Linked DNA regions of Homo sapiens: region 2 is linked to region 1. Evidence: promoter capture Hi-C in human tissues and cell types (Jung and others, 2019). All regions are on one chromosome and are shown on one strand. Each heading gives the region's core, a stretch centred on a gene start or on the middle of the fragment in contact. The rest is flanking DNA. Distances are from core to core; before and after follow the strand shown. Region 1 holds the start of RHOU (ras homolog family member U). Region 2 holds the start of NUP133 (nucleoporin 133).

Region 1 (3,781 bases), core at 959-3,458:
CACAGACACCACCGCTTAAAAACAAAACCAAAATGACAATCAGGAGGTGTCTTTTAACCCCTTTCGGAATACTAATAGTTTTAGCTTTCACTATCATTCTCACTCCAAACCCCTTTGCTCCTATTTTAGGTCCTCTAATGAATTAAAGACTAGCCAAAAACAAGGAGGCCCTGTGGAGGCATTTTTGTATACAAACCCACGGCTGGCAAGTCACTCCATTACCGTGAACCAGGCAGCAAATCCCTGAACGCTTTGATGGTGACCCTAAAAAGGCCTATGCTTTTCTCCCAGTCCTGGAAGATTTATTTTCCTGTCACACTTGTTTCAAAGGACCTAAAAACAACACTGGGGGTAAATGGGAAGCAACCCTGCAGTTTTAAATCAGTGGAAAACCTCACAAATAATTCTGTTTTCCCTTGGGAAAGGTTCCCCAACTTCAGGGTTTATCATACAATTCTAGTGTGTTTTGAGAACATGTGCAAACACAGGCTGCCCGCATTGTCCTGTTTAAGAAATGAGGGCACTCCTTATCTCTATGTCAGGTCAAAAGGAGGATTAAAAAAGAAAAAAGAAAGCCATGGCCCCCTTTCCACTGGGATCCGGGGACTCGGGGAGTGTGGAGAGGCCTGCAGCAGGACATGTTGTGGAGGTTTCTATTTTAATTAAGCAGTCAGTTTTGTCTCTTTCTACACAACTTTCTAATTGTTTCTAAATATTTATACTAGTCAGCTGCAGGGGTGGGGTGGGGGGAGGGGAAGAAACAATACCCTGCGGTGGGAACCCACCAGTACAGCACCCATTTCTCTAAGGTACCTTTGGGATGAAAGGAAGGTCAGAGAAGCAATTTTTTTTTAAAGAAGCAAGACAGTTAAGTGTTTCATACTAGTTTCTGTGAATTTTAACTTTTTCTTAAATTTCAAAAAGACCTGAATAGCAAGATAGAGAATTCCTTTCTCTTTGTATCTACCAAGGGAAATGGCATCGCACCCGGTACATAGGAGCTTTAAGTAGCTTAAAGGGATCCTGAAAAGATACCAACAATCAGAATCCGAGCCCATGTGGGCAGGGAAGGTGGTGGGGCTCAGAAGAAAGAAATGGTGTTTACTCTTCAGGTTTCATCCAAACCTAAGCCTTCACGAGGGCCGCTCGCGCTTTTTCACTAAATCAAGTGTTTTCCCGGCGTCTCCGCGGCTCTTTAAAGCGGAGACGCCCCTTGTGAGCTGAGCCGCCTAAAAGCAAAGGAGCGACGCTCAGGTAAAGGCACCTGCGCGTCACCTTCTGATTGAAACTCTGCAGCGGCGCCAGCGACGTCGCCCTCAGGAAACTTTGCTCTATGCAACAAACTGACCGGGCACCCTGAACTCAACCTGTTTCACTCCTACTTATCTGTTGCTTAAATTGTGAGATTTTTTTTTTTTTTTTTTTTGGCAAGGCTCTGACTGCCGCTCCGCCCTCCTCTCTCCAAGCCCACTCCGCCGTGGTCCTTTCGTGTTAGCTCCGCGCTTGCCCGGTCCCTGAGACTCAGGAAACGTCCTGCACTCCTCATTTGTCCGGCTTCCCAGCTGGAGCCGCGCCCGGGGCCCTGCAGCCCCCTTGGGAACCTCGCGACCCTCGCGCCACCTTCCTTCCCCTGGGTGGACCGCGGCCACGCGCCCCCGGCCCCGGCCCCCCGGCCAGCTCACCGGAGAAGTTGTCGAAGGCAGTAGGGATGTACTCGGTGGGGTAGCCGTTGGTGGTGTAGCTCACCACCAGGCTCGTCTTGCCCACCGCGCCGTCGCCGACCAGCACGCACTTGACGCCGCGCCCCTCGGCACCCCCCGCACGCCCCCGGCCCCCCGGCTCCCCAGGCCCGCGTCCCCCGCGTCCACCGCGCTCCCGACGCGGCGGCACCGGAGGCGCCTCGCAGCGGTCGGGGAACGCGGGGTCCCCCTGCTGCGGGGGCATCGATCCGCGAGCGCGGGCTTGCGGTCGCGGGCTAGCAGGGCCCGGCCCGACCGCCCCTCCGCCCCGGAGGGTTGCGGTAGGGAGGAGCTGTCACCGACAGCTGCGGGCGCGTCCCCGGCCCTGGAGAGTGGCGGTTCCGGGCCGCACGGCCAGTAGACAAAGGCGGCCAGGGAGGGTCGTGGCTCCGCGCTCCGGCGGCGCCAGCCGCTCTGCCCTGCGCTGTTGGAGGACAGCGGTCCGAGCGCCGTGGATCCCAAGCGCTCTGTCTCCGCCCGGCTTCCCGGCGACACGACGCGTGGGGGGCGGGCAGGCGGGCGGGCTGGCGGGGAGGGAAAAGAGGCGGGTCTGGCCGAGCGGCTCGGTCCCCGCGCCAAGACCACAGCGCCCCCCGCCTGCGCGCCGCGCGCCTGCACCCGCGCCCGAGGCGCCGCCGCGACCAGGCGGGGACTGCGAACACTGGCGCGGGAGGACCTGGAACACACGTTCCGGGGGACCCCGCGCACCCGGTCCGGGAAGCGACGCCCGAAGGAGCCGGGCCAGCCTCCGCAGCCTCCTCCCCAGCTCCCAAGAGGGTGACCACCGCGCGACTGGCCCGGGAGGTTCCGCTTTCTGGCGCCCACGCGAGCCAGGAAGCCTGAGCCGCCTCCTATTCACTCCGTGGAGCCCCCGGCTGGCCACGGCTCCACCCAGGGGGAAAAATGAAGTGTCCTGGAGGCCTGTCCTGCGAATGAGATTGAATTAACAGACAGCTTTTTTCCTTAAGTCTAACTGCAGCTGATCGTGTGATTTTTTCTCATTTTGAAGCAAAAGGATGCCAGCTCCATTGTGAATGCTCCTTTGACTTTGTCTTTCGGCATGCCGTGAACCTTTATACATGTATGCTCCAGAAATTTTTTTATACCCCCAATTCCTTCATTTACTTAAAGGTAATTCGGAGACATTAATATGTCTGAAAAAATATTCCGTTTCCCTTTGATTCATTTCTCTCTCTGCCTTCCTTCTACATGTGGTCAACAGTCTATTCAGAAAAAGGACGCCTCTTAGCCAAGTCAGAATACCAAGAGTCCTGGGGGTGTACAGCGTGGTGTGAGAAGGGCCACATATTATTAATACACATTGATACTAGTGGTAGTAAAAATAACAATAACAAATACTGAACTTTCATAATGTGTCAGATACTGTTGTAAGCACTCTTCAAGAACTAATTCTTTTAATCTTAACATTACTTACAGATGAGAACACCTGAGGCACAGAGATATTAAGTAACGTTTTGGGATTCCACAAGCTAGTAAGTGGCAATGCCAGGATCCAAACCCAAATAGTCTAGCCCCAGAGCCTGAGCTTCTAACCAAAATCCTGGAGGCAAAAATAAGTCAGTATGATAAACGTAATCTTGAACGTATGGCCATGGTCAGAATGCAGAGATGGATTTATCAAGAAGTTAGAAGCTTGAATCCAGGACCCCTGACTTGCAAAGGACACTTTCACATTGGAAGACCTAGCAATGTGTACACGTGGTAATATGTTTCTGTAAATTTTGAAAAAAAAAAAAGTATTTTAATCACCACCAGTTATGTTCACTGTCTTTTTAAACTGTAACTTACCCTCATATTGAGTGACTTTGAAGAGGCCATGAAGATTTTGGGGATCAGCCAAAGAAAGTGAAGTTGGGGAGACCCAAACAGGTTGTTTGGGTGTAATGGGATACAGAATCAGGATGAAGGTGAGATAAGGGGGATGTCAAGGATGCAAAATTTATGACAAATTGAGCATTCAGAGGCAATATCAAAAAACAACAAATTTAGAGGGCCCTTACTCTCAGGGTCAGGCAAGTGCC
Region 2 (3,781 bases), core at 467-2,966, 770 kb before region 1:
TAAAATTGATCCCACCAATCCTCTCAGACACAACTATTAATACTCTCTATTGCCTATTTCACACCCCTCCTTGTAAGAATGAAACAGGGAGGAAATGCACTGGGCTCTCAGAGCTATAAGACTCAACAAGCTGCCAAGTTGGGTTAGACACCCAGGTGGGAGAAGGAGTAAAGCAGCTAGCCTATGTAACCTTGGCAAGATGACTGCTCAGATGCCACTGGTGCATAGATAGATGACTGGCTTCCCAGGGGAATGTCAACAACTGACACCCACACTGTGGTCTCCCACATGTGAATACGTCAATGTTTACTTAACCATTCCCTTATTTCAACACACGTTGAATGAAAGTCTACTATGTGTCTGTTACTGTGTGCCACAAAGGTAACAAAGTCACTGCTCTTGCTGTCAAGACATTTAAAAGGAAGTACTTGACAGACAATTATGAAAACAAACTATTATGCAGGATAAAAATACAGTCTACACACAGGAGCAGAGAGGACAAAGGATAAGGGGGACCTAATCCTGTGGAAGGTTTCACTGAGAAGGCAGCACAGAACTAACTTGATGCGGAAGGTAGGCGCCTTCTGGACCAACAAGGCAGGGAGTGCATTCCAGGTGAGAGAAACATGGACATGGGCACTGGAGGGAGATTTGGGTTTTTAAGTTCTCGGAATGTGGAGTGCAAGTGGGAAGTGCTGGAAGTACAACACGGACGGAAAAGCCAACCTGACTTAGATCACATAGGACCTTGCAAAGGAGCTTAGCAAATAACCTACTGGCAATGGTCAGCCACTGAAGCATTTACAGGCCCAAGAGCAGCATTACGTTTGCCTTAATTCATTGTGTTGGCAGTGAGAAGATAGAGTGGAGGAAGACTAGACACAGGTAAGGAACCCTCTCCCCATCTCCCCTACTCCCTCCCGCTGGCAGAAGAGGCTACGCAGTGGTTGAGGGAAAGGTAAGTACCAGAACCAGGGCAGAGGCAGTGCAAATGTGTGATCTAGTACAGACACGTAGGACCTTACAACGTATACCATGATCTTAGGGTGGAGGTAGGTGTGAGGGATGACTGCAGATAGAGCTCTTCTCTTTGCCTTGGACAACTGGCCAGTTTTACCAAGCTGGAACAGAGATGGTGGTAGGAGAGGGGTCCTAAAGGAAAACATGAATGCGCTTTTCATAAGTGGATTGTGAGGAGTTCGCAGGACTTCCAGCTGAAATTGTCCCCTAGGGAGCTGAATGATAGGGGTCTGGGGGTTTTGAGCTGGATCCAGGTTAGAGACACGGATTTGTGGCGTCATCAGCGTGGATGAGACTGCGCAAAGTTGAATGGGAAAATGGCAAACCTAGAAAACAACAAATATCACAGTGCGATACCAGTGTCAGCTTTACGGCTTTTCTCCGTCCTCAGCTTGGAATGAGGAACATCTTTCATTTCACAAGAGGTTCAGGAACTACCAGTGTGAAAAGAGGCTACGTTCAAGCTGCTGGAGGGCCAGTTCCACCTAGGCGCAGTCAAGAAGGGCGCCTGGCTTTCCGGCTTCACGTCCCTGGAAGCTCGGCACTGCAGCGGTTCTAGATCTGGGGCCGCCGGCTGCCTTCCCGACCTACCTCGCTGACTGGGCACCGCCCTTAACGTCACGATCCCGCCCCCGCCAGCGCTCCGACCACAACCCGCGGGAGCCATTGCGTTTGACGTCATCATCGCGCGCCATCTCTTCCCTTAGGTGTTTAAGTTCCGCGCGCAGGCCAGGCTGCAACCTGACGGCCAGATCCCTCGCTGTCCTAGTCGCTGCTCCTTGGAGTCATGTTCCCAGCCGCCCCTTCTCCGCGGACCCCGGGTACCGGGTCCCGAAGGGGCCCGCTGGCCGGACTCGGGCCCGGCTCCACGCCCCGGACGGCTAGCAGGAAGGGTCTGCCCCTGGGGTCTGCAGTCAGCTCCCCAGTGCTCTTCTCGCCGGTCGGCCGGCGTAGCTCGCTAAGCTCGCGGTAAGTGATCTCCCTGGTTGGGTCTGGCAACCAACAGCCTCACGGGCCGCAGTGGGCCGGATAGGTTGTTGTCTTTAGAAGCCTTTGGAACCGGGGCGGCGGAATAGAATGCCACAGTATTGGAAAATAGACCTTTTCCACTGCTGCAGGTAGTATCTGCTTCGTTTTGATTATCAGTTGATCAGTTGATTCCCCACTTTGCATTTTTCATGGATACCTTTGTGCAGAAGTGAAGTACAAACTGGATTTGCATCAGTGTTTACCTACTTCCCACCTACTACCCGTGTGATCTGGTGTAAGTCACTCGTGATTTTCTTCATCTGTGAAATGGCGATAATATATCTCACCTGAGCCAGAGGAGTTATTATGAATTGCCACGATGCAGATGTAAGGTGATGGTGATAATGAGGACCTACAACCCTGAAAGATCATTGTTTAATGCCTAACATACCAACTGACATTAATATCTGATGATTGGTAATTAAAGGGTTTCTAGCTACGGAATTTAACTTTCTAGGTAAATTATAAGGAAAAGGCTTTACATAAGTGAGCTAAGAGTACTGTGATAGTTTAGTTACTAAAACTGCTCGTTTGGAGCACCAGTAAAATCATCACACACACACACCCCTCCCCACCCCCAACACACACCATGTTCATAATTAACCTAAAACTTTAGTGTTTCTGCATAGTTTTCTCTGAATTCATCTATAAAAAATGAATTTTTCCCTGCAGGAAACACAAAGTATTGTGTCTTGAAATTATGGTTAAAATTTATCTGTAAAATTTTTCAGTACTTTAAAGGAGAAGTGGTTTTGAAAGAATACACTGTATCTTTGACTTTTTTTGGCATATTTTGAAAAGTTCTTTTCAAAGTGCTGATCTTGTCAGTGTTTTCTATTCCTTTTGCGAAAAGTTGGAGAATAAAAGCATACTTTATTTACTGTGTGTTGTTTTATTTAAATCTCTTCTTGTGATCATTTGAAGAAAAACCTTTGTTATCCTCTGTCAGGAAACAAAGCCCTTAGCCCTTCTGTATGTGCATCTTCTCATTTAATTCTCGTGATAAGACATAGACTACCTTTTATTCTGGTGACTTTACAATATTCTAAATGTTAAGAGGGTGAGCAAGAAATAAAGTTTTTACTGTGATATCTGCTGTTGAGGACCATGTAACAGCTGATGCTCGTAACCTGTTCGATTTCTTGCTTGGTTGTACAGATCTGATAGTTTTTTTTTTTTTTTTTTTAAAGAGACAGGGTCTCACTCTCTGTCGCCCAGGCTACAGGCTGGTGCCACAATGCCCGGCTAATTTAAAATTTTTTTTGTAGAGACAAGGTCTTGCCACGTTCCCCAGGCTGGTCTTGAACTCCTGGTCTCAAGCAGTCTTCCCGCTTCGGCCTCCCAAAGTGCTGAGATTATAGACATGAGCCACTGCTCCGGCCAGGTCTGGTGGACTCTTAAGCACCTAAAGCTAGATGAGCTTAAATCTCATCTAAGCCAATATTTATAAAATGTATTTGACCACAACATATGGTAAAAGCTGATGTTTTATATTCTGTCTTTCAAAAATGTTGAGATCTGCAAAATGACCCGCTGTTTGAAAAAAAAAAAAAAAAAACACTGGTCTAGTTAAGCCTTATTTCACAGCTAAGGAGGCAGAATTATAAGGAGTTTAAGTGAATACAGGCATGCATTTCAATACTAGAGTCTATGGGATTGAAGCCAAGTTTTCCTAAATCCTGTTTTGTTTTTTTTTTACATGAAAAATATTACATTTAATTACATGGTAAAT

Evidence for each region. The method cuts DNA at HindIII sites, captures the fragments that hold promoters and counts their contacts. A contact is called where the count stands out against the background at its distance.
Region 2: the fragment with the promoter of NUP133 here is called in contact with the fragment with the promoter of RHOU in region 1 in 1 of the 25 tissues and cell types used here (small bowel).

The regions. Positions count from the first base shown.
Region 1 is chr1:228,733,906-228,737,686 of GRCh38, reverse strand. RHOU (ras homolog family member U) reads right to left here and starts at 2,208. Exons shown (of 3, transcript NM_021205.6): 1 at 1,683-2,208; 2 at 1-14. The coding sequence starts at 1,944. The HindIII fragment of the contact is 9,114 bases long and covers 1-3,781 here.
Region 2 is chr1:229,506,276-229,510,056 of GRCh38, reverse strand. It overlaps NUP133 (nucleoporin 133), which reads left to right and starts at 1,716. Exons shown (of 26, transcript NM_018230.3): 1 at 1,716-1,989. The coding sequence starts at 1,808. NUP133-DT (NUP133 divergent transcript) reads right to left here and starts at 1,627. Exons shown (of 3, transcript NR_110630.1): 1 at 1,378-1,627. RefSeq lists silencers at 561-855, 1,796-2,025 and an enhancer at 1,626-1,745. The HindIII fragment of the contact is 14,911 bases long and covers 1-3,781 here.